Linked DNA regions of Homo sapiens: all the other regions are linked to region 5. The links are contacts of gene promoters, found by promoter capture Hi-C in blood cells and fetal thymus (Javierre and others, 2016). All regions are on one chromosome and are shown on one strand. The core of a region is centred on a gene start or on the middle of the fragment in contact, and the rest is flanking DNA. Distances in the headings are between cores, read along the strand shown.

The links. Contacts are between HindIII fragments. The CHiCAGO score rates a contact against its expected background, and 5 or more counts as called.
Region 1: a fragment that was not itself captured here is called in contact with the fragment with the promoter of SOWAHA in region 5 in 6 of 17 cell types (endothelial precursors, erythroblasts, M2 macrophages and 3 more); the score reaches 7.5 in endothelial precursors.
Region 2: a fragment that was not itself captured here is called in contact with the fragment with the promoter of SOWAHA in region 5 in 17 of 17 cell types (monocytes, endothelial precursors, M0 macrophages and 14 more); the score reaches 21.2 in monocytes.
Region 3: a contact is called between a fragment that was not itself captured here and the fragment with the promoter of SOWAHA in region 5, in 1 of 17 cell types (neutrophils). The highest score is 5.6, in neutrophils.
Region 4: a contact is called between the fragment with the promoter of CARINH here and the fragment with the promoter of SOWAHA in region 5, in 11 of 17 cell types (megakaryocytes, M1 macrophages, endothelial precursors and 8 more). The highest score is 8.1, in megakaryocytes.
Region 6: a fragment that was not itself captured here is called in contact with the fragment with the promoter of SOWAHA in region 5 in 5 of 17 cell types (monocytes, total CD4 T cells, naive B cells and 2 more); the score reaches 7.5 in monocytes.

What each region holds. Positions count from the first base shown.
Region 1 is chr5:132,540,791-132,544,838 of GRCh38, forward strand. It overlaps IL5 (interleukin 5), which reads right to left and starts at 2,732. Exons shown (of 4, transcript NM_000879.3): 1 at 2,545-2,732; 2 at 2,304-2,336; 3 at 1,225-1,353; 4 at 655-1,119. The coding sequence starts at 2,688. The coding sequence ends at 1,021. The HindIII fragment of the contact is 1,855 bases long and covers 1,643-3,497 here.
Region 2 is chr5:132,378,623-132,382,740 of GRCh38, forward strand. The region is part of intron 2 of SLC22A5 (solute carrier family 22 member 5); the gene reads left to right. Among named protein-coding and RNA genes, the nearest start is that of MIR3936HG, 11 kb to the left of the region's middle. The HindIII fragment of the contact is 1,566 bases long and covers 468-2,033 here.
Region 3 is chr5:132,338,489-132,342,922 of GRCh38, forward strand. SLC22A4 (solute carrier family 22 member 4) reads left to right here. Exons shown (of 10, transcript NM_003059.3): 9 at 2,077-2,212. The region is part of intron 5 of MIR3936HG (MIR3936 host gene); the gene reads right to left. Among named protein-coding and RNA genes, the nearest start is that of MIR3936, 25 kb to the right of the region's middle. The HindIII fragment of the contact is 3,144 bases long and covers 1,432-4,434 here.
Region 4 is chr5:132,409,467-132,413,326 of GRCh38, forward strand. It overlaps CARINH (colitis associated IRF1 antisense regulator of intestinal homeostasis), which reads left to right and starts at 1,463. Exons shown (of 4, transcript NR_161242.1): 1 at 1,463-1,575. RefSeq lists an enhancer at 812-861 and silencers at 1,102-1,401, 1,472-1,761. The HindIII fragment of the contact is 5,230 bases long and covers 1-3,860 here.
Region 5 is chr5:132,810,746-132,814,734 of GRCh38, forward strand. It overlaps SOWAHA (sosondowah ankyrin repeat domain family member A), which reads left to right and starts at 2,557. Exons shown (of 1, transcript NM_175873.6): 1 at 2,557-3,989. The coding sequence starts at 2,877. RefSeq lists a silencer at 3,592-3,661 and an enhancer at 3,701-3,989. The HindIII fragment of the contact is 6,134 bases long and covers 562-3,989 here.
Region 6 is chr5:132,360,585-132,364,454 of GRCh38, forward strand. All of the region lies in intron 3 of MIR3936HG (MIR3936 host gene), which reads right to left. Among named protein-coding and RNA genes, the nearest start is that of MIR3936, 3.1 kb to the right of the region's middle. The HindIII fragment of the contact is 7,264 bases long and covers 1-3,870 here.

The DNA.
Region 1 (4,048 bases), core at 1,320-3,819, 270 kb before region 5:
ATCCTTGAGAAGTTTTCTCAAACAGAAGAATCTCTAGTGATGCTACTGATAGCCATAAGCAGGCAGAATGGAGTGTTGTGCGGCCTGGTGCTGCCCTGCCCCCGGGAATACGGAACTCAGTCTTTCTAATGGGACTGCCCTACCAGTGTCTCTCTGTTCCTTTTGTTATGGTGCAGGGTCAGGTGGGGTAAGAACCCCTGCAGGCCTTGGCAGAGAGGGTTTCTGGCTTCCTCTCTATACTGGCAATGAGATTGATCTGCCAAATTCTTCTCACAGGCTGGGCAGGAACCTAGTTACAGGTTCCCACACTGCCCTTCTTCCAGGGGACGCCTTACAACTCATTTTAGTTCTACAATCAGTCTTGGAAAGCACATTCATTCATTTATTCCCTACCATTTACCCTGCACCATCCCAGGTTCTGGATATACTGTAGAGAGAAAACCAGGTTCACCTCCTGCCTGTGTCCCTGCTCCCCACATCCCCACTAAGTCCTGCTAGATCACTTCCACCTCTGGTGTGCCTTGCAACCTTGAGACTTCTCCAGAGAAATGGGGATGCTCAGCCACATGTGCTCAGACCCTTCCTCCAAACTGGGCATGTACTCAATGGACTGTGCTAACTTCAATTGCTAAGACAGAGGCCAGCAGCAAATTGAACAGTTGTCTATTTTTGTTTTATTAGAACACAACATAACATTAAATAAATACTAATTTACCAAATTCTTAACCATTTCATAAATACTATTAAGTTAACAGACATTTTACAGAATGTTAAGTTAAATAAGAAAAAAGTATATCAATTTTGCCTGGAGGAAAATACTTCAATGATTCTGATATCTGAAATATATTTTAAGAATTTTATGCTTTCTGGCAAAGTGTCAGTATGCCTGAAATATTTACTTTCCCTCTGAAGTTAAATTATACTGAAAATTAAGGCCTGACTCTTTCTTGGCCCTCATTCTCACTGCAGTAAAATGTCCTTCTCCTCCAAAATCTTTGGCTGCAACAAACCAGTTTAGTCTCAACTTTCTATTATCCACTCGGTGTTCATTACACCAAGAAACTCTTGCAGGTAGTCTAGGAATTGGTTTACTCTCCGTCTTTCTTCTCCACACTTTTTCTGTGAAAAAAGAAAAATGACAATAGGTATTACAGGAAACTGTCAATTCCATAGAAATAGGCACAGCCAGACAAATATAGCTTCCATTGAATGTGTGTAACTTACTTTTTGGCCGTCAATGTATTTCTTTATTAAGGACAAGTTTTTGAATAGTCTTTCCACAGTACCCCCTTGCACAGTTTGACTCTCCAGTGTGCCTATTCCCTGAAAGATTTCTTCAGTGCACAGTTGGTGCTAAATGAGGAAAATTTTTAAAATGCAAATAATCAAGACAAGGTATAAAAATTTGGTCCATTGTCCATTCTGCAATGTATACATACTTCAAAACATCATATTGTACACAATAAATATATATACTTTTTAATTCATCAATTAAAAAATAATTATTAAAACAATTTTGGTCCACAAAGTTAGGCTTTGTTTTGTGGTATTTACATGAGTTCCCTTCTCCAAAGAGTTTTTTGTTTGTTTTCTAGGCAACAAACCACCACATATTAAGATAAAATTTTCAAAAAGTAGATGAAGCTTATATGATTACTGAGGAGTTTTATAAAGGATATAACTTAATTATGTAACTGGAAAAAAATGTTTTGGAAGTGTAATGCATTATACATTAAACTCATATCAATGTGTTTCTACAGTTCTAGCTGGTAGTTTTATTCTATTTAGACTAATAAAACTATATATTTTACATTTTAATATGACCAGGACATATTCAAATGCATACAACACCATCATATAGTCATAATTATTTAAGTATGCAGAAATTATTAATATAGGGCATTTGTTATATATTTTAATGTCTACTGATCATGGTTCTAAAAATATAATTCTGAGTTGCTAATACTTTCAGAAACACGTTAGAGTGAGAAAGAGTCAGAACTGCACGGAGACTAGCACGCACCTCTCACTCAGTGTGGAATCCTTCTGGAAAGAATCCCTGACACGATGCTCTTTGGGAGGCAAACTAACAACATCACCAAAGAGCCTAATCCACTTGTTTAAAGGATTCTACTTGATAAAAAGTCATTCCTCATATTTATAAGTACAGACATTCACAGCCACCCATATGAAAACAAAATATAGAAAATTAAATAGTTCCAATGATAACTAATGATTTACAGCTTAAAACAGGAAATTTACTTATTCATGCCATCATTTTACTGAATCATAATTTAACTTACATTTTTATGTACAGGAACAGGAATCCTCAGAGTCTGGAGAGGAAAGGAAATACAATCATTTTTACAGCACACCAGCATTCATAACTTTTAACAGAATGTTTGCTGGTGATGTAGTTATCACCCATGTACTAATGTGCTCAGAATCTTATTATTTATAACAGATCTCTATATATAGTAAAGGAACCATCACAAATGATTACCTATGCACTTTACAGACTGTAGGAATCATAAAGAAAATTACCTCATTGGCTATCAGCAGAGTTCGATGAGTAGAAAGCAGTGCCAAGGTCTCTTTCACCAATGCACTTGTGGGAATTTCTGTGGGGATGGCATACACGTAGGCAGCTCCAAGAGCTAGCAAACTCAAATGCAGAAGCATCCTCATGGCTCTGAAACGTTCTGCGTTTGCCTTTGGCAAAGAAAGTGCATAGTACAAGACTGCGTCCCCAGTCAATTTATTGTCTGTCTTTGAGGAAATGAATAATTTCTAACAATCAGATAGAGAATGCCTAATAATGGCATATCGTGAAACTAAATGTTTCCAATGCCTTATATCTTAAAAAATAAATTTACTTTTATCTTTTAATAATAAAAATCCCTGTTTCCCCCCTTTAAAAACATTTTCTATTACGAAGAATCTTTGGGTTAATACATCATTGCCCCACATTTGCATTTCTTAAAATCAGAAAATTAACTTCCTCTTAAAAGATGTGTGCAAAACAAAGTATAAGGTAGACCACTAAACAGAATTTTATGCTAAAATACATAAATATTGGGAATGTTTTTTTCAGATCGGCTATGTTCTACTATGACTGTGGCTAGATTAATCTGTCTTAAAAGAAATTGAAAATACTGGTGGGAAGACAGTGATTGAAATGGAAACTGCCAAGCCTTGGCAGGGTCGAGTTCTGTTCACTGGGGTCTTGATTAGGATCCTTTCTGTTGCCAGTGACTAAAAACCTAACCTAAAGTTGTTGAAGATAAAGAGGGAAGGTATTGGCTCATAGAACCAAACAGTCCAGGAATGGAGGCTCTTTTACATTTTGATGGCTTCAGTGACTCTTCCTTGACTCCATCCTTGGGCACCTTTCCCATTGAGGTCTCAAGATGATGTCCAGACTCCTGGATCTATATGTATTCTGTTCATGAGCAGCAGGAAAAAGCAAGCTGTGCTTTTCTGATTGTTTAATCAAAAGCTTTCAAATTCAGTCTCTTTCTGACAAGGGTCACATGTTCATCCTTGAACTGTGACCAGGGTGTAGTATATACTGATTGGCTCTCCCTGGAGCTAGAGGTGACCCTAATCCTACCTCAACTGCATAGCTTAGAAATGTGGGGTCCCAGTAGTAAGGGGGACACAGATTCTAGGAAGGCAACCAATAAATATCTGTCACAGATACACAATACATGGATGTGTCCTCTCCTTTATGTCCCATAAGGGTGGAGGTGTCCTTTCACACCTTGGGCGGGCCATGAAATTAGGGGAATCAGCCTTTGTTCCTTAGGCTCAGACCTGTAATCCCAGAAAGGTACAAATGAGGCCCCCTCCTAGATCACACACTTCCTTTTTCCCTGGCCTGAACACATATGATGGAGGTGTATGTGGCTCATTGTTTTTAATAGAGTGCTTCAGTGAGCATCCCAGAGTGGCTCTATGTTGCAGCCTAGAAGCCTGACTTCAGGCCTGTCTTGAGCGTCAAGAACAGATGGTACCAAACACAAACTGTTGCCCAGAACAGTTTTCC
Region 2 (4,118 bases), core at 1-2,500, 430 kb before region 5:
GACTCCATGCCTAGTAAGAAGAGCCAACAAATCTGACTCCGTAATTCTTGCTAAGTAAAGAAACCTGAGCTGTCTAAGCTGAATGTATCTGTGACCCGGTTGACTAGGTAATATGCCATGATTCACTTCTGCAGTAGCCTGGCTTGCCTCCCCTGGGTCACTGTGACTCTGTCATGCCCCTGAGCATGGGAGAGGTTGACATCATGCACACATGCACATGTGCTAGATTGTAGATCTGTAGTAGTGCCACGGTGTCTGCCTCTGTAGTCCCAAGAAGACCAGCATTCTCTCTGCAAAGTGAAAGGAGCTCTCACCAGCCACTAGTGGTATGAAAAGCAGAACTCTTTTGTCCACAAGGCTGATGCCCCTTAGCTAAGTGGCCTGTGGTTTTGGCATTTACTTTATGACAGGAGGGAGAATAGTGTTTTGATCCATTTCTTATAAGCAGGTTATTTGTATAATTCTAAAGCTTTTAACTCAAGGAAACATTAACGGCTTAGAGAATCCCAAACCCCTCGAAATTATATGCACAATGTTAGAGACTACATGTGAGCATTTTTTTGGAGAGAGGTCCGTAGCTTTCATGAAGTTCTTAGAGGGGTCCATTATGTTGTGTCTTCTTTCCCTGGAGCTTCAGGGTCTGTCAGAGAAGACTGTGAAGAGAGTAGCAGCCTTCAGCAAGTCCTTGGCCACATGACACATGTGAGAACACCCCACAAATCGGTGGGTTAGCCGGTGGAAAGGAGTCCCAGCATCTTCCCTGGTTTTTAATTCCTGGCCTCAAGCAATCCTCCCTCCATAACCTCCCAAAGTGCTGGGATTACAGGCGTGAGACACCATGCGCAGCCAGATATTTTTTATTGTTGTTGTTTTTTTTTGGAAAAGGAGTTTCACTCTTGTTACCCAGGCTGGAGTGCAATGGCACGATCTCGGCTCACTGCAACCTCTGCCTCGCAGGTTCAAGAGATTCTCCTGTCTCAGCCTCCCGAGTTGCTGGGATTACAGGCATGCACCACCATGCCCAGCTAATTTTGTATTTTTAATAGAGACAAGGTTTCTCCATGTTGGTCAGGCTGGTCTCAAACTCCCGACCTCAGGTGATCCACCCACCTCGGCCTCCCAAAGTGCTGGGATTACAGGCGCGAGCCACTGCACCTGCCCAGCCAGATTTTTTTTTAAAAAGCAGGTTAACCTGTTTATTATTCCTACTTTACAGATGGAGAAAGTGAGACAGAGGGATTAAATAACTTGCCCAGGGTTTCACAGCTGGCAAGTGGCAGAGTTAGGATTTGGACCCAGGTAGTCTTGCTCCTCTATTGTGTATGGACTACTGTTCTAGGTCCCTGCTGTCCTAAAACTTGCTTTCTAGCAAGGTGGAATGTATTAAACAACCAAGTGAGGAAGTCGTTGTTGTCCTTGGCCATGGTAAGAGATACAGAGAAGTGCAGGGTGCCACAGGAGTGTCTAACAGAGGAGGTCAGGGGCAGCATCCCTGAGAAGGTGAAGCATGAGCGAGAGTGGGAAGATGAGTCGAAAGTAGCCAGCTGAGGGGTAGAGAGGAGAAAGAACATCCAGGCAGGGAGAATAGCAAGTGCTAAAGCCGGGGCTCATGAAAAGGCATGGGAGCAGGACAAAGTCCGTGTGGTAGAGGTGCGGAGAGTGGTGTTAAGATGAAGGGGAGAGGCAGGCAGAGCCCTGGGCAGATGAGCAACCAGGGCTTAGTGGATCACAGTTAGGACTTTGGGCTTCAGCCACAGAGCAGCGGTGGGCTACTGAGATTTTTTAAAGCAATAGTGTGACAATCAGATTTGTCCTTTTTTTTTTTTAAAGATGCTTTGACAACCTTGTGAAGAAAGAATTGAAGGGAAGCAAAAGGTGTTGTAGAGAGACCAATTAAAAGGTTGTCACAGTAGTTCATGCCAGAGATGATGGTGGCATGGCCTAGCATGACGGTGGTAGAAATGGAGGGAAGTGGTAAGAGGTAAAATCAACAAGACTTGCCGATGGGCTGGATGTCGGAATTGGGGGAAGAAAGCTTTCTGGCCTGAGTAACTGGGTGAATGAAGGTACACTTCTCTAAGACAGAGAATGCTGGAAAAGAACCACGTTCATGGATATTGAGTTCAATTTGTGTGTACTAAATTTGGGGTGACTATGAGACCCCTAAGTGGAGAAGTAGAGTGTGAAGCTGGCTGTATGGATATGGTACTGCATGAGAGGTTTTGGCTAGAGAAACACATGTAGGATTTGTCAGCATATAGAACCCTCAGCAGAGCCCCAGATAGGGATGAGGTTGCCTGGGGAGAGGGGAGTGGGGAGGGGAGGGGGGAACTGGGGGAGGATTGTGCTATGCTTAGAGGCCACCTGAGTGGACATGGGAGATTCCTTCTCACGGAGCTAAGTGACAGCTGCGGCTCAGAAGAATGCCCTTGATGTGAAAAGGAGATACCCCAAGTTCAGAGTAGAAATGCAGTGTATTTTTCTGGGTCAGCTGTGTCATGGGTCAGCTTAAGAACCTTCTTGCCATGTGACACAATGATTACCTGAGGAAAGCATTTAAGTTCCAAAAGGTCTATTCCCAGGGAAACTGGAAACAAAATTTGTGAGTGTGTTTAGGACCACTTTAGTCTACAGAAGGGCTAATATAGTGTTTTTCAAACCTTTCTAAACATTTTGGCCACAGAACTTTCATTAAAGTAGGATAATTTAAGTCTAGTAAATGAAATACACCCTAAGTGGCTAAAAGTATGGCTGTTCTGCCTGCAGCCCCTGCCTTCAATTCCCAATGCCCTGCCTCAAGCCTGTCTGTGCCCCCTTGGAAGGCCCAGGGCCCTGTGGGATGGACAGCTTCTGAGTGCATTACTTCTGAGTAAACCAGTTCTAAAACCTAAGCTAAGTAGATTACCTGAAAGCAATCAATTCATGCCCTAACTTGTCTAGGACATCAATGTAACTTTTTATATAGTATAAAGGTTTCACCTTCTTTCTGGCCTATGAATATGTCTGAAATTCAAGAGCAATTAAAGTACTCCTGGGTTGTCAAAGCCCTTTATGTAACACTATTGAGTTATCTTTATGCGTCTGACTTGTAAGAGATGCACAACTCTAGGAAGAAGTAGACTGCTGTGTCCTGTTTCCAGGTATGTGTGTGTTTGCCATTTTGTTGACAGACTTTAAAAGCAAACATTTCTGGCCCCAACCCTGAACTGCCAAGGACTGGTGCTATGTAAAGGGTTCTCTGGATCTGTCTCTTCCCTACCATCCCAGGGAGCTCTTAGGAAGGGAAAGGGCATAGAGATTATACCAGCCTGCCTTGTGGTTAGGAACCACCCCTTGGTTGGCATATAGAACATGCTTGTTAAAAAAACCATGCAGGGGAAAGTAGAGTCTACTACCAGGCGAGAGTTTCTCAACCTCGACCCTATTAACATTTTGAGCCAAATAATTTTGTTCTAGGGCATTTTCCTGGGCATTTTAGAATATTTAACAACATATCTGGCCTCTACTCATTAGATGCCAGTGAACCCCAAGTGATGGAAAAAAACAACAACAACAGAAAAAAACCTCTTTTATTGAGGAAAAACACCAAACTCTTCCACATAGTTGCAAGACCTTGTGCAATTTGCCTCCTAGCCACCACTGTACTCTTGAATTGCACGCCTGATGCCAACCACACTGGTTCCTCATGTTCACCATGCCCCCTCCAGCCATGGGGGTGTGTGGTCTTCTCAGAGTCTGAAGCATTCCCCACCCACCCCAACCCACCCCCTGTGGCCTTCTTTAACCATGCTGGCTAATTCAGGATCCCTAGTTCCTTATGACTTTCCTTTAAAACGTCTACCAGAAATTGGGGGAAAAAAAGTGTTATTATAGGATTAATGTTGGTCTTCCGCACTATACTGTGAATATCATTGAGAGCTTGGTCCCTACACCTTAAATCCCCCATCGTCAACTATTTTTTCCCATCTCAGTGTCCCATGATCAAGGAGACCCTCCCTGAATGTCCAGTTCCCCAACCCTTACCCCCAGTCCAGGGTAGCTTCCTTCCTTGTGCCTCTCATTAACCTGCATGCCGATCCTTCAGTGCACTTGACTCAGTGTGTAATTGTATATTCAGT
Region 3 (4,434 bases), core at 1,754-4,253, 470 kb before region 5:
TTATTAGGTGGGAATTTCCTCATCCTAACAAGCCTGGGAGTGCTACGGGAGACTGGGGCTTATTTCATCCCTACAGCTACAACCGTAAAAGACAGCTGCCCCCAAAGTGGCCATTTTAGAGGCCTACCCTCAGGGACGAATTGTCTTTCTCAGGGATGTTCCTTGCTGAGAAAAAGAATTCAGCGATATTTCTCCCATTTACTTTTGAAAGAAGAGAAATATGGCTCTGTTCTGCCCGACTCACCAGCGGTCAGAGTTTAAGGTTATCTCTCTTGTTCCCTGAACATTGCTGTTATCCTGTTCTTTTTTCAAGGTGCCCAGATTTCGTATTGTTCAAACACACATGCTCTACAAACAATTTGTGCAGTTAACGCAATCATCACAGGGTCCTGAGGCGACATACATCCTCCTCAGCTTATGAAGATGACGGGATTAAGAGATTAAAGACAGGCATAGGAAATCACAAGGGTGTTGATTGGGGAAGTGATAAGTGTCCATGAAATCTTCACAATTTATGTTCAGAGATTGCAGTAAAGACAGGCGTAAGAAATTATAAAAGTATTAATTTGGGGAACTAATAAATGTCCATGAAATCTTCACAATCCACATTCTTCTGCCATGGCTTCAGCCAGTCCCTCCTTTCGGGGTCCCTAACTTCCTGCAACAGGTGTATTCATCTTTTTCTTTTTGACTTGTGCAAACTCTTTGCAATGGAAGAAATTAGCCCCTTGTATATATGTTGTAAATATTTTTCCTAGTTTACCATTTGTATTTTCACTTTATGATATCTTTGTAATGAAGACAATTTTAGTTTTTATATACTCAAAGGTGTCAATCTGAAATGAAACTACAGAGGTGTTTCAGCGGCATGTTCAATCTGATGTAGGATCTGACACCCCATGCCTGGTCCTCATTAAGGACTCTACTGGTGAGAAATGCAGACACACCTCATCAATTGGGCAATTGGTTACCTACTGGTACACACGTACACACACACACACACACACACACACACCTGAAAACATGTATGAATTCTCAGGAAAGGTATAATCCAAACCCTTACAGAGAAAGAGAAACATTTTCCTAACAAACATATTCTGCACAGTTGCCCTGTGCCACACCTGAGATAGCAGATTATACAGAGTGGTGTTATTTTTCCCTTTGTCCTTCCCTGTACTTTCAAACTATTTCAAACTATGCTCAGATGGTCCAGTGGTCAGACACTGGTACATAAGACAGGGAGTCCAAGAGTCTCCTACTCCACACAGCTACTCCTGTTAGTGACACAGAGGCCTCAGAGAAGCTGCAATAACAATATTTTCCTTATGTTTTGGGTCAAATGAAATCCATGGGTGTGCTGTTCCTCTGTAAGCTCTGTATGTATACAGGGGCAAAGCAAGATGAGGATCTGTTTTTCTCCTGTGTGAGTAAAGCTTCACAAAGAGATTACATATTAACCCAAGACATGTAAGTGCTCCAAAAAGAAGCCAAATCCAGGCACACAGTGCCTTTACAGAATGTGCCTGATACTTATAATTTACTGATTTAATCTGAAGTGAACATAATACTTAGTTGTTTTTTTTTTTTTTTTTTTTTTTTTTGAGTCTCATAGCCCTGTGGACCTAACTTTCCACTGCAGCCTACTAGTTTGGGCAAAAGCAGAGTCATGCCAGACCTATCATAGCCAAAACCTATCCCTGAAACATCCTGGTTAACCTCCTTCTCCTTGATGTCCTCCCATCCCCCATTTCCAATTACCTCCACCTTAAGAGGAGAACTCTGGTAGGCAAAGAACTCTACCAAAGGAACATCTGTCACACATGACTGAGTAGTAGCTTAGAGGATACCAGTTGACAGGAAAGAATGAAAAGCCTTATGATAATGCAAAAGGATTATAGACATGCACAATGTCATCTGCCAAAAAGAAACTGATATTTTGCTTACTTTTTTTTCTCTGAAAATGTTCAGATTTAAATCCATTCTCTTATACTGTTCACCAACTTCACAAAATGATGCTCAAGAGTGCCCAGAGAGTCCTCCTATCTGATTGATGTTCTTATGTCCCGGGCTTTACAGGTGCTTACAACAGAATGCTGCCCTACATCGTCATGGGTAGTCTGACTGTCCTGATTGGAATCCTCACCCTTTTTTTCCCTGAAAGTTTGGGAATGACTCTTCCAGAAACCTTAGAGCAGATGCAGAAAGTGAAATGGTAAGTAGGACTTTTAACAAAATGATACCAAAATGCCTTAGGGAGAATAAGCATGGAAGAATAGCTAGGAAGGTTCTGAAATAGAAGAGTAATAAGTAGAGACTAGCTCTATCAGATAATAAAGCATATTGTTGGCTGGGCACAGTGGCTCACGCCTGTAATCCCAGCACTTTGGGAGGCTGAGGCAGGTGGATCACCTGAGGTCAGGAATTTGAGACCAGCCTGGCCAACATAGTGAAACCTCATCTTTACTAAAAATACAAAAAATTAGCTGGGTGTGGTGGCAGTCACATGTAATCCCAGCTACTCAGGAGGCTGAGGCAGGAGAACTGCTTGACCCAGGAGGCAGAGGTTGCAGTGAGCTGAGATCACACCACTGCACTCCAGCCTGGGCAACAAGAGCAAAACTCCGTCTCAAAAAAAATAAATAAATAATAGGCCAGGCGCGGTGGCACATGCCTGTAATCCCAACACTTTGGGAGGCTGAGGCAGGCGGATCATGAGGTCAAGAGATCGAGACCATCCTGGCCAACATGGTGAAACCCTGTCTCTACTAAAAATACAAAAATTAGCTGGGCATGGTGGCACACACCTGTAGTCCCAGCTACTCAGGAGGCTGAGGTAGGAGAATTGCTTGAACCCGGGAGGTGGAGGTTGCAGTGAGCCAACATCATGCCACCGCACTCCAGACTGGGCAACAGAGCTAGACTCTGTCTCAAAAATAATAATAATAGTAATAAAGCATATTGTTGAGCAATAGTAATTAAAACAATGTGATAATGGTATAGGAATAGAAACCAATGGAATAGGATAGAGTTCAGGATAAAACCCAAGAAAATATAAAAATTCAGTATGTAATAAAAAGTAGCAAAGTCAAGGGGGAATAGTTATTCAGTAAAAGGTATTAGAACATTCAGCTAGACATTTTGAATAAATTAAAAAGTTGTCTCTTTAAAAAATGCATTGGCTGGGCATGGTGGCTCACACCTGTAATCCCAGCACTTAGGGAGATTGAGGCAGGCAGATTGCTTGAGGTCAGGAGTTCGAGAACAGTCTGTCCAACATGGTGAAACCCCATCTCTACTAAAAATACAAAAATTAGCCAGGCATGGTGGCGCACCCCTGTAATCCCAGCTCGCGGGAGGCTGAGGCAGGAGAATCGCTTGAACCAGGGTGGTGGATGTTGCAGTGAGCCGAAATCGCGCCACTACACTCCAGTCTGCGTGACAGAGCGAGACTCCGTCTCCAAAAAAAAAACACATCAAGATAAAATCCAGACAGTTAAAAAATTTAGGCCTAAAAATGTAAAATCATAAATATACCAGGAGGAAACAAACATTTTTATAACCTTAGAGAAGATCTTACTGAGCATAACATAAAATCAAAGAACCATAAAGGAACAGATTGATATATCTGATTGTACATTTTTTAAATTATTGGCAAGGCAAAAAGAAACCACCCACAAAGACAAAAGTCAATAAGCCAGGAGAAAATATTTGCTACACAAAACCTAAACATAAGGCTAATATACTTAATATACAAAAAGCTCATAGTAACCAGTGAGAAAAAGACAAACAATTCAGTAGGAAAACCAGCAAAGGACAAGAACAGACAGTTTACAGAAGAAGTCACTTCAGTGTCCAATATATACATGAAAAAAGTTATTTGTCCACATTAATAAGGAAATGCAAAAATAAAACAATTCAACATCTTTTTTTGGCTTATGAGATTGCGCAAGGGTTTTTCTTCTTGACGCAAACCAATTCTGACACCTATTGAGTGTCCTATAATGCAGTTCAATTTTGACAATACCTAAATTTAGCATCAGACTCCACAGGTGTAAAGACTCAGTCCCACAATACTGCCTTGCTTCACTTGCCACTCACAAATGTCAGGTCCCCAGGTTACCCACATTTCTCTCTGACTTTGCTACCAAGTCTGGGGTTCCAACAAATCCCCTCCTTGGGTTTGATTATTTGCTAGAATGACTCACAGCACTCAGAACACTGGCCACTAGCGGTTTCTTACAAAGGATACAAATGAACAGCCAGATGAAGAGGTACATACAGAGAGGTCTGGAAGGGTCCTGAGTGCAGAGGTTCTGTCCCTACGGAGTTAAGGTGCACTGCCCTCCTGGCATGTGGATGTGGTCACCAACTCGGAAGTTCTCCAAACCCCATCATTTAGAGGTTTTCATGGAGGTTTAGTCATGTTGGCATGAT
Region 4 (3,860 bases), core at 213-2,712, 400 kb before region 5:
ATCATTTGGCCTGCCCCACTTTCCCACCTGCTCTTGAGGGAACTATTGCAAGGACACATACAAGCCCCTACATCAGTCACAGACCAGGGCCTCCATCTTGCAGGGAATGTGCCCAAATTACAAACAGGTAAACCAAAGTGACTCTGGGCAGATTTAATAGCTCATTTTGGTTTCTTGTTCCAGTTATAACAGACTGCTCTGTGTTTGCTCTATGGCAAAAACTTTTATGTTTGCTTTGCAACAAACGTACAGACAGGGCAAACTGTGTTTGGAGTATGGTGTCTTACCAATGTTTTCTAAAAGCAAGTGAATAGAAATGCTTGCAAAAGTATTTTCAGACCTCAGTGGCCAGCGCTGAACACCGCTGTAGGAATGTCCATCAAACGTTGTGGCCATGCTCCACTCTAACAAAAACCTGGTTCCGTGGCATAATTGTGGGGGCTAATTGTCAGGCTAAGTTTCAGACACCTTCCAAAAAAAATTGCAGGGCTTCCTCAGTCTTTAAACTCCAGATAATATTGTCCAAACTTTGACAACTAACCTGTTATCATGGAGATAGCTCCAAGTTGATGGACTGGCCATTAGAGAATGTCTATCAAGCATCCAGGTAAATGACTTGGTTGCTGCCCTCAAGGAACCCACTTAGAGGCTGTCAGAAAATTTTAAGTATTTTCTTCCTTCTATTGTTCATTCCTAAAATTCTGGCAGTAGGTATGATTATTATTATTCCCATCCCACAGGGGAAGTAATTAAGTCTAACTACTTGAATATTTTGCCCCAAATCACTGACAGTAAGAGACGGCCAGACACTGAAACCTGGAATCTCTAAATGTTTAGATATTGATGGGCACCGCTTAGACCAGGGAGTCCAAACCATAGGCTTGCTGTTCCAGTTTCTCTTATCGGATGAAGGGACCCCCATTTCACCGACGTCATTGACTTTTGGGTTCTCCGCTGACCCCAGATGAGATGCCTGGTACCTCATGGTCAAGTCCCCTCCAACGGGGACTCCTCAGAGGCTTGGTCCCAGTTGCTCAGGCTGCCATCTGCCTCCTCAGGCCAGAGCCCGAGGCGCCGCCAGCGGTCAGGTCCCGGGCCGGCTGCCAGCCACAGGCCCAAGTAAACGCTGAATGAAGGGCAGATGGAGGAACCTGTCCCGGTCGGCCGAAGCGCCGCGGGCGCCTTTCCACTTACGGCGGGCCTGCCCAGCCTCCCGCCCAGCCCGGGCCCGGGTCCCGCCGAGGCAGGTGTGCGTGGCGGACTAGCTCTCGGGCACTCGGCTGGCCCAGCTCCACCCCGAACGCCACCGGGCCAGGCCACGCGCAGACCCGAGCCCGGGGCCCCCGCCTCTGGCTGCCGGCCCGCGCCCGCCGCGCGCCCCGCGTTCACTGCGCGCTCGGCCCCGGTCCCGCCTCCCGGAGGGTTTCGCTTTCGCTTTCCTGCCGATGTCGTTGAGGAAAATGAAAGCGGTCGTGGCCAGGACTGGCGCAGCTGCCGTTTCAGGCGAGGGGCGCAGAATGCAGCGGCCGCCAGCCTGGAGCGCGGGCCCTGGGGCCGCAACCCGCGCCGGGCGAGGTAAGCACAGCCCCTTCGCGGCCGCCTCGCGGGCTCCTCCTTGCGGACCCGGCGGGCCCGACGCCAGGCGTTTGACCCGGGCAGGGTCAGGGGTTCTGCCGTGGGGGCGGGGAGGGCCTGAGAAGCGGCACCCTTGGGTTTCGTGGCTTTGAGCCTCCAGGCCAGGCTGGAAGACCTGGGAGGCCTCAGACAAGCGTGCCAAGGGGCTAGCAGCCCGGGGTCGAGCTGGAACCGTGGCAAGTCGGGCCACCTGAGCACGCCTTTCCCTTTTGTAGAGCACCGACCTCCCTGGGTGTTGGTAAAAATCAAAAGTGGGAGGGTGTACGTAAAATGCTGAACAGAATGCCTAACCTGAGCTCATAATCTACTCCCTCTGACCTGTCAGACTCATTTTTCCCACTGGGCCCCACCCCATACCTCATGTAGTTTGCTTAAGTTTCCTAGATCTGGTGCACCTGGGGGCACTTGGAGTGCCTTCCAAGTGTTCCTTGACCGAGCAAGCTGGCAGCTCATCTCCCTTGATCACGGGCATGGAGAGCAACTAGGCCAGGATGTGGCCCCCTTGCCCTGGCCCTGTCCATGTGAAGTCAGGGCCTTACTCTGCTGGGGCCCCCATCCCGGGGCTAGCATAGATGTCAGGGATAGGTGCACTCACAGACCGAGTCCTTCCCAGACCAGGAAATTTCCAGTCCACTGCATCTGCCAGCAGAAGCATGAAAGATGCGTGCCACCTTGTCTTTGCCCTTCGTCAAGTATAGCCAACTCATTCTTGGTATGCAGGAAGGGGGTTCCACCCCAGGGCTGTGGAAACAGCCCCTGCCCTTAGGGCGTTCCCATCCCCTGAAGAGAGAAAATATGTATTCAAGTTACCCATCAGGCAGGTTGTGTAGAACAAGGACAGGTGAGTGAAAGAGCTAAGAGCTGAGAGTAAAGTGACTAAATCATCAGAAACTTTACATTTAAGTTATGACAGGTTTTGCAGGCCAATACCAAGAATCCCCTTTAACTCAATTTTTGTCTCAATAATAATGAATTCAGCCTAATCACACAGATCTGATCATACGGCCCATTACTGAAACAAAACTTGAATGATCTTTACTTTGAGAAAACCATCTGAATTTGACAAAAGATGGTCTAAGTTCCTAAGTTTCAAAACATGGAGTCCGCCGCTGCCCTACCTCAGCAGGATGGTGTTGAGTACTGATTGCTTTTAGAAAATGCTGCTCTTGCCGGGCACGGTGGCTCACGCCTGTAATCCCAGCACTTCAGGAGGCCGAGGCGGGCTGATTACCTGAGGTCGGGAGTTTGAGACCAGCCTGACAAACATGGAGAAACCCCGTCTCTACTAAAAATACAAAATTAGCCAGGCATTGTGGCACATGCCTGTAATCCCAGCTACTTGGGAGGCTGAGGTAGGAGAATTGCTTGAACCCGGGAGGCGGAGGTTGCAGTGAGCCAAGATCGCGCCACTGCACTCCAGCCTCGGCAACAAGAGCTAAACTCCGTCTAAAAAAAACAAAGAAAGAAAAAAAGAAAATAGAGAAAATGCTGCTGTTTTCATGAGCCAGAAAATTAGATGCACTTCCATTCACATTCCATTGGCATGGACTAGTCTCATGGGTCTCACCTAATTGTAAGGTGGCTGGGAAATGTAGCCTGGTGGTGTTCCCAGGAGGAAAAGAACGAGAGACTGGTGAGCACTAGTAACCTCTTCCACAATCGACTAATGTGGTGAATTACTTTATCATGATGTATTTGTAATACACTTTCGTATTTGATTAGATAATATTTTATTTAGGAGTTTAACATCTATGTTTATAAGTGAAACTATCCTGTATTTTTCTTTATTTGTACAGTCCATATTTAACATTTCAAAATCAAGTAACAAATTGGGCAATGTTTTCTCTTTTTTTCTATTTTCTAAAGCAACTCCATTAAGATAGAGATTTTCTGCTCCTTGGAAGTTAGTAGGAGGCACTTGTAAAATCTTCTGGGTCTGAAACTCTATGGGGAAGAGGTTTCAAAATTATTTGAGTCTCTTAAGTGGTTATTCACATTTTTGTGCCAAATTTGGCAATTTTTATTGTCTAGAAATTATTCATTTCATCTGTATTTTCAAATGTATTATCATGTGTTTATATTATTCCTTTATAAGTTTTAAAATGTCTGTTTTATTTGTCATTTCTTCCTTTTTCTGTAATCTCATTTTTAAAAAATCTTCTGTCAGTTATTCTTGATCAGTCTCACTAGAGGTTTGTCTACTTTCAAATAAATACTTCAAGTTT
Region 5 (3,989 bases), core at 1,307-3,806:
AGATTGTATCTTCTACCCAGAGTATCTGGCTTACAGCCTTGCACCCAAAGATATCCAATAGATGTTTGTTGAAATAAATTATTGAGGAATGCAGAGCACGATACACCTGAGGCAGTTTGCAGAAGGCTTTACAGGGGTGGGCCTTGAGGTGAGTCTAAAGAATGGGTAAGGTAGGGCAGGCGCAGTGGCTCACGCCTGCAATCCCAGCACTTTGGGAGGCTGAGGTGAGTGGATCACCTGAGGTCAGGAGTTCGACACCAGCCTGGCCAACATGGTGAAACTCCATCTCTACTAAAAATAAAAAATTAGCCAGGCATGGTGGCACATGCCTGTAATCCCAGCTACTTGGGAGGCTGAGGCAAGAGAATTACTTGAACCCGGGAGGCGGAGCTTGCAGTGAGCCAAGATTGCGCCATTGCACTCCAGCTTGGGCAACAAAAGCAAAACTCCATCTCAAAAGAAAAAGGGGGGGCGCTGGGGTAAGGCTAGATGCAGTGGCTCACACGTGTAATCTTTGGAGGCTGAGGTGGAAGGCTCGCTTGAGGCCAAGGGTTTGAGACAAGCTTGGGCAATATAAAAATAAAATTAGCTGGGTGTGATGCTGTTGCGTGTGATGGTGCGTGCCCTGCGAATTCTACTCCTAGGAGCCTATCCTAAGGAATTACTCAGAAAGGTGCACAAAGTCTTATATATCAACAGCATCATTTATAAGAATTAAAAACTAGAAACAATATAAACAATGAAGAACAAGAAAACAAAGTATAATACTACATTTATTTGATGCTATCATTAAAAGTTGTATGTTTTTGAAGACTAGACTAGCTATTGTCATTGGGAGGAATGCTCACAATATAAAGTGAGGGGGAAATGTTTAAATTGTTTGCATCTTGGGGACAGGGCTGAACTCAGAAATTGCCCCTGGGGATTGGATTGGGGAAAGGGGACCCTTTACATTTTAGTCTTCTGTTTTCCTTTTGAGTAATACTAATAGTAGTGACTATACTACTAATAATAATTCAAATGATTACTGTAAGCCAAGCATTATGCTAAGTCTTTTGTGTTTATTTTCTCACTTAATTCTCTCAACCATCTGAGCAGGTAAGTACTATTTTCCTCATTCCTTTACAGACAAGAAAGCTGAGGCACAGAGAAGTCAAGGCATTTGCCCAAGGTAGAGCCAGAACTCAAGTGTAGAATGTTGACTCCAGAGTCTTGTTTTCTCAGCTACTACAATATGCTGCTTCTGGTTAGATATATTTGTAGTACTGCAATTATTTATTTATTTATGAGACAGGGCTTGCTCTTGTCATCCAGGCTGGAGTGCAGTGGCGCCATCTCAGCTCACTGCAACCTCCACCTCCCGGGTTCAAGCGATTCACCTGCCTCAGCCTCCGGAGTAGCTGGGATTACAGGTGCGTGCCATCACACCCAGCTAATTTTTGTATTTTTAAGTAGAGATGGATTTCACCATGATGGCCAGGCTGGTCTCGAACTCCTGACCTCAGATCATCCGCCCAAGTCAGCCTCCCAAAGTGCTGGGATTAGAGGCGTGAGCCATCGCGCCCGGCCTGCATTTTAAATTAAGGAACTGATTCTACCTCTGCCAGGCAGTTCCCTCAACTAGAAACCTCTTCCCCGTCTACATAACTCCCTGATCTCCTTCAAGTCCTTGTTTAAATGTCACTTTCACAACGAGTACTATCCTGACTGCCCAGATCAAAATTGCAACCTGACCCTCATCCGTTATACCCCGCTGTGCTTTTTTCATAGCATGTATTTAGTATATCATATAGTTTTCGGATTCACCATATGCTTCTGTTCTCCTCCAACACATGAGCCCCACTAGGTCACGGGTTTTTAAATCTGTCTTGCTAACTGACGCATCTTAGCCAAAAAAAAAAAAAAAAAAGTCCTGGCACAAACTACGTGCTCAATACCTATCTGTGGAACAAACGAAGGTTTAAAACCATGGCATGACTCCGCATTGCTTTCTTACTTTAAAGCATAAACATACATACACACATGGGAGACAGGGAGAGGATATTTCAAAATGTTAATGGTGATTTCAAGTGATTTTTTTTCCTTCTTTATGTTTTCCTCTATGTTTTCCTGTTATGTTTATGTTTCCTGTGGTTTTATACCCCAAATTCTACGTGAAAATGTATTCTCTTACCATGAGAAAATTGCTTTTGAAAACGTCTCTCTAAACCTAGAGTAACGTGCATTGCCGCGCAGAGTGAATTGGTTTTGCTGTAAATCTCATGAAGCCGTTTTCCTGCATGAAACACAGTAAAAAAAAAAAAAAACTGGAGTGGTATTGACGACCTTTAAAAAAAAAAGATTGTTCTGAAATCATCGCTTGGTGTTTTGCAGTGGTTAAATGTTTATTAAAGGAATAAAAATCCATTCCTCCTTGGCGGACCGCGGCGTCCCTAGGGAACACACCCACCTAGCAACCGAGACCAGAGCTGGAGCGCTGCGCCTTTAATTCTGGGGCGGGCGGGGGGCGGCGGGAATTTCTGCTCCGGTTCCCTCTGCATCGCGGGGGCAGCTGTCACCTGTAAGGCGAGCGCGGCGCGGGGGATGGAAGCAGGCGCCCATTGGACAGAATACAAAGGCAGAAACCTACCCCGAAGGCCGGGGCCCGGCGGGGCGCTGGGGGTGGGCGCTCCCCGCGGCCCCCGGCGCCCTTCGCCCCGAGACGCCCCGGCCCAGCGGCACTGGCGCGACCGAGGTCCAGCTTCGGGGACACGCCCGGCTGGCCGCGGGGAAGGCACCAGGTGAGCGCGGCCGCGCCTCCCGGAACCCCGCTCCCGCGCGTCCCGCGGCGACGCGGCGCCCACCCGCCCCGGGAGCCAGGAACCCAGGGCCCCACCATGGCGCTGGCCGCCGCCGCCGCCGCTGCGGCTGCCGGGGTGAGCCAGGCGGCGGTGCTGGGCTTCCTGCAGGAGCACGGCGGGAAGGTGCGCAACTCCGAGCTGCTGAGCCGCTTCAAGCCGCTGCTCGATGCCGGCGACCCGCGGGGCCGCGCCGCCCGCAGGGACCGCTTCAAGCAGTTCGTCAACAACGTGGCGGTGGTGAAGGAGCTCGACGGCGTCAAGTTCGTGGTGCTGAGGAAGAAGCCCCGGCCCCCGGAGCCCGAGCCCGCACCCTTCGGCCCCCCGGGGGCAGCGGCCCAGCCGTCGAAACCCACTTCGACGGTCTTGCCGCGGAGCGCCTCTGCCCCGGGAGCTCCGCCCTTGGTCCGGGTGCCGCGGCCAGTGGAGCCGCCAGGGGACCTGGGTCTGCCAACAGAGCCACAGGACACCCCGGGGGGGCCGGCCTCCGAGCCCGCTCAGCCGCCCGGGGAGCGGTCCGCCGACCCACCGCTTCCAGCCCTTGAGCTAGCCCAGGCCACCGAGAGACCCTCCGCAGACGCGGCCCCACCGCCTAGGGCCCCTTCTGAGGCGGCATCGCCCTGCTCTGATCCGCCAGACGCGGAGCCCGGGCCCGGGGCAGCGAAAGGGCCGCCGCAGCAGAAGCCCTGTATGCTGCCGGTGCGCTGCGTCCCGGCCCCCGCCACGCTCCGCCTCCGGGCGGAGGAGCCCGGCCTGCGCCGGCAGCTGTCGGAGGAGCCGAGCCCGCGGAGCTCCCCTCTGCTGCTGAGGCGGCTCTCGGTGGAAGAGTCCGGTCTGGGCCTCGGCCTGGGCCCGGGCCGCTCCCCGCACCTGAGGCGCCTGTCGCGCGCCGGCCCGCGTCTGCTGAGCCCTGACGCCGAGGAGTTGCCCGCCGCGCCGCCGCCGTCCGCGGTGCCCCTGGAGCCGTCCGAGCACGAGTGGCTCGTGCGGACTGCCGGGGGCCGCTGGACCCACCAGCTGCACGGGCTGCTGCTGCGCGACCGCGGCTTGGCGGCCAAGCGCGACTTCATGTCTGGCTTCACGGCCCTGCATTGGGCCGCCAAGAGCGGCGACGGCGAGATGGCGCTGCAGCTGGTGGAGGTCGCGCGGCGC
Region 6 (3,870 bases), core at 170-2,669, 450 kb before region 5:
CTCCTGCCTCAGCCTCCTGAGTAGCGGGTACTACAGGTGCCCACCACAACGCCCGGCTAATTTTTTGTATTTTTGGTAGAGACGGGGTTTCACCATGTTAGCCAGGATGGTCTCGATCTCCTGACCTCATGATCCGCCTGCCTCGGCCTCCCAAAGTGCTGGGATTACAGGCATGAGCCACTGCACCCAGCCAAAAAAAATTTTTTTAAAGAGAAAGGTCTTGCTATGTTGCCCTGGCTGGCCTCAAACTCCTGGGCCCCAGCATCTTCCTGCCGCAGCCTTCCAAGAAGCTGGAACTATAGGCACATCCTCTGACTTTTTGTTCTGTGTGAGCAGGAGTCCTCAGTGAATTGGATGATGCCTGCCCACATTGGTGAGGGCGGACCTTATTTGCTCCGTCTACTGATTCAAATGCTTGTGAACCTCTCCGAACACATCCTCACAGACACAGACACAGACACAAATAATGTTTTACTTGCTATCTCATAAAATTAACCATCATGCAGACAGACCAGACCTCTAATATGGACCTACCACATGCTAACTATAGCAACTGGGTAAATTACTTTACTTCTCTTTTGTTTCTTTGCCTGTAAAGTGAAGACAAGAATATCAATCGCGTAAAGCTATTGTGAGGATGAAATGAGGTCATGTACTATTGTTAGTATTATTCTTGTAATAATACAATAGCAGAGCAAATTGATACTTGCCCAGGACCTCCTAATTTCTGCCTTAACCTGGCATCTAGCTTAGAACACATTAACATAGTTAATAACTTATATTATCCAAATTTAACTCAGCCAAGACCTCCTGATCTCCTTCGATGGAATTTTACTCTAAGATGACTGTATTCCCTAGGGAAACCTATGTGTTCCTATATGACTTCTCTCCTGGGTGATTCTGTCCAGACCCATGGCCTTAAATACCATCTATATGTGAATGATTCCCTAATTTATATCTCATTCTGATCTCTTTTATGACCTTCAGACTCATATATCCAGCCGTCTATTTGACATTTTGACTTGGATGTCTAATAGACATCCCAAAATTGCATTTAAAATAAAACTCTTGCACAGGCAACAAAAGAAAAAATAGAAAAATTGGGCTACATCAAAAATGTAAAACTTCTGTGCGTAAAAGGATATAATCAATAGTGAAAAGGCATAGAATGGGAGAAAATATTTGCAAATCATGTATCTGATAAGTGGTTCATATCCCAAATATGTAAAGAACTCCTACAATTCAACAACAACAAAAAAAAAACCTGATTTTAAAATGGGCAAAAGAGTTGAGTAGACATTTCTCCAAAGAAAATATATAAATTGCCAATAAGCACATGAAAAGATGCTCAACATAATTAATAATTAGGGAAATGCAAATAAAACCACAATGAAATACCACTTTATACCCATTAGGATAGCTTCTGTAAAAAAACAAAAACAAACAAAACAACAACAACAGCAAAACCACAGAAAATAACAAGTATTGGCGAGGACGTGGAGAAACTGGAACTCTTGTGCACTGTTGGTGGGAATGTAAAATGGTACAGCTACCGGGGAAAACAGTATGGCAATTCCTTAAAAAAATTAAACATAGAATTACCACATGATCCAGCAATTCCACTTCTGGGTATATACCCAAAGAATTAAAAGCAAGTACTCAAATAGATACTTGTACATACATGTTCACAGCAGCATTAGTCACAACAGGCAAAAGATGGAAGCAACCCAAGTGTCCATCAGTGGATGAATGGGTAAACAAAATGTAGTATACATATATAATGGCATATTATTCAGTCTTAAAAAGGAAGGAAATTCTGACATATGCTACAACATGGATGAACCTTGAAGACATTATGCTAAGTGACAATAAAAGCGAGTCACAAAAGGACAAATACTATGTGATTCCACTTATGAGAGTGGTCAAATTCATAGAGACTTCTGTATTATAGAAGGGTTTTCGGGGCTAGGGTAAGGAGGGGAGTGGGGAGTTAGTGTTTAATAGGTACAGAGTTTCAATTTTGCAAGATGAAAAGAGTTCTCTACAGATGGATGATGGTGATGGTTGCACAATGTGAATGTACTTAATGCCCTTAAGAGTGGTTAAAATGGTAAATTTTATGTTATGTGTATTTCACCACAATTTTTAAAAAGCAAAAAATAAAAATAAAAAACTCTTAATTTCCCAAACCCCCACCCCATCAAATCTCCCCATTTCAAAAACAAACATGAAAAGCTATAAAGTTGCTCAGGCTAAAAATCCAGGAGTCATCCTTAATTTCCTTCCCTCATGCCCACATCCAATAGTAAATCATGTCACCTTTTTCCTCCAAAAATATTCTGAATTCATCCATTTATCTCTTCCACAGTTACCACTCTAGTTCAGGCCATCATAAGCTCTTGCCTATAATGCTGCAATGCTTTCTAATCAGTCAACCTGCTTTCATTCTTGTCCTCTACAGTCCCTTCTCTATATAGCAGCCAGAATGTTCCTTTTATGCTAGAAGTAAGACCTTATGCTTTTCTCTGCCTGAAAATACTCTGATAGGCCAGGCACGGTGGCCCACACCTATAATCCTAGCACTTTGGGAGGCCAAAGTGGGCAGCATTCAAGACCAGCCTGGGCAACATGGCAAAATCCCATCTCTACAAAAAATACAAAAATTAGCCAGGTGTGGTGCGTGTAGTCCTAGCTTCTGGGGAAGATGAGGTGTGAGGATCACTTAAGCCCAGGAGGCAGAAGTTGCAGAGAGTCAAGATCATGCCACTGCACTCCAGCCTGGGTGACAGTGAGACCCTGTCTCAAAAAAGAAAAAATATTCTGGTAGTGTTCCATCTAGAATAAAATCCAAACTCCTTGCCACTATCTACAAGGCACTAGACAATTTGGCTTCCATAAAAACTGGCCTCCTGCCAATGTCTCTGACTTATGTTCCAACATTACTCACTTTGATCACTATGTTCTAGTCACGCTGGTCTTCTCTCCGTTACTTAGTCACCCCGAGCACATCCCTTACCTCACAGTCTTTGTACTTGCTGCTCTTCTGCTTAGTACACCTGCTTCCCAGATCTTCACATGACAGATTCCTTCTCGTCCTTTGCCTCTCAGCTCAGATATCACTTTCTCAGAAACATGTTCACTTACCATTCATCTAAAGCAGCTACCCAATGACTGTCATTCTATACCATTACTCTCTTTTCTTTCACCTTGGCAATTACCACTACTTGAAGTTTGTATTTATTTGTACAAGTTTATTGTCAGCCTCTCCATCCTCCAAGTAAAATACGAGCTCCATGAAAACAGATAGCTTGTTTCTTTCCTCAGTTCCCAGAACTCGGAACAGTGTTTGGCACACATCAGTCTATTCATATGTTTGCCAAATGAACGAAGAAGTAAAAACCACTAGTGACCCAATTTTCCTGCCATGTCATATATATACATAAAAGTCTTTTGGGAAAACTCATATTTCTATATTGGCCCTCACTAATGTCTTTTCCATCTATTCTAGAATGCAATAACCAGTCTTTAAAATGCAAGCAGAATATTTCACATTTCATTTTTGCAGGTATCTCTGAGGGGAATGAATTTACATTTCTACTACCACAAATAGGATGGTCAAGTTTGTTGCAATGCAAAATTTTTTCTGTGGAATTCAAAAACTGTCCTGTACCTCTTGAAGCCGAATTGTGGGGTTTCACATTGGAAATTACACTCATCTAAAGAAACAGTCTGGACATTTAAGTCCTTAAACAGTTGTTCAAAGTATTTTATTACATACTTTTTCTAGTCTTCAGAATGTTTCAAGGTCCATTGTCTTCATGGCTAGTTACCTGTCTGTCCAGGCCAAACAAACTGGAGTTAAAATGCAGA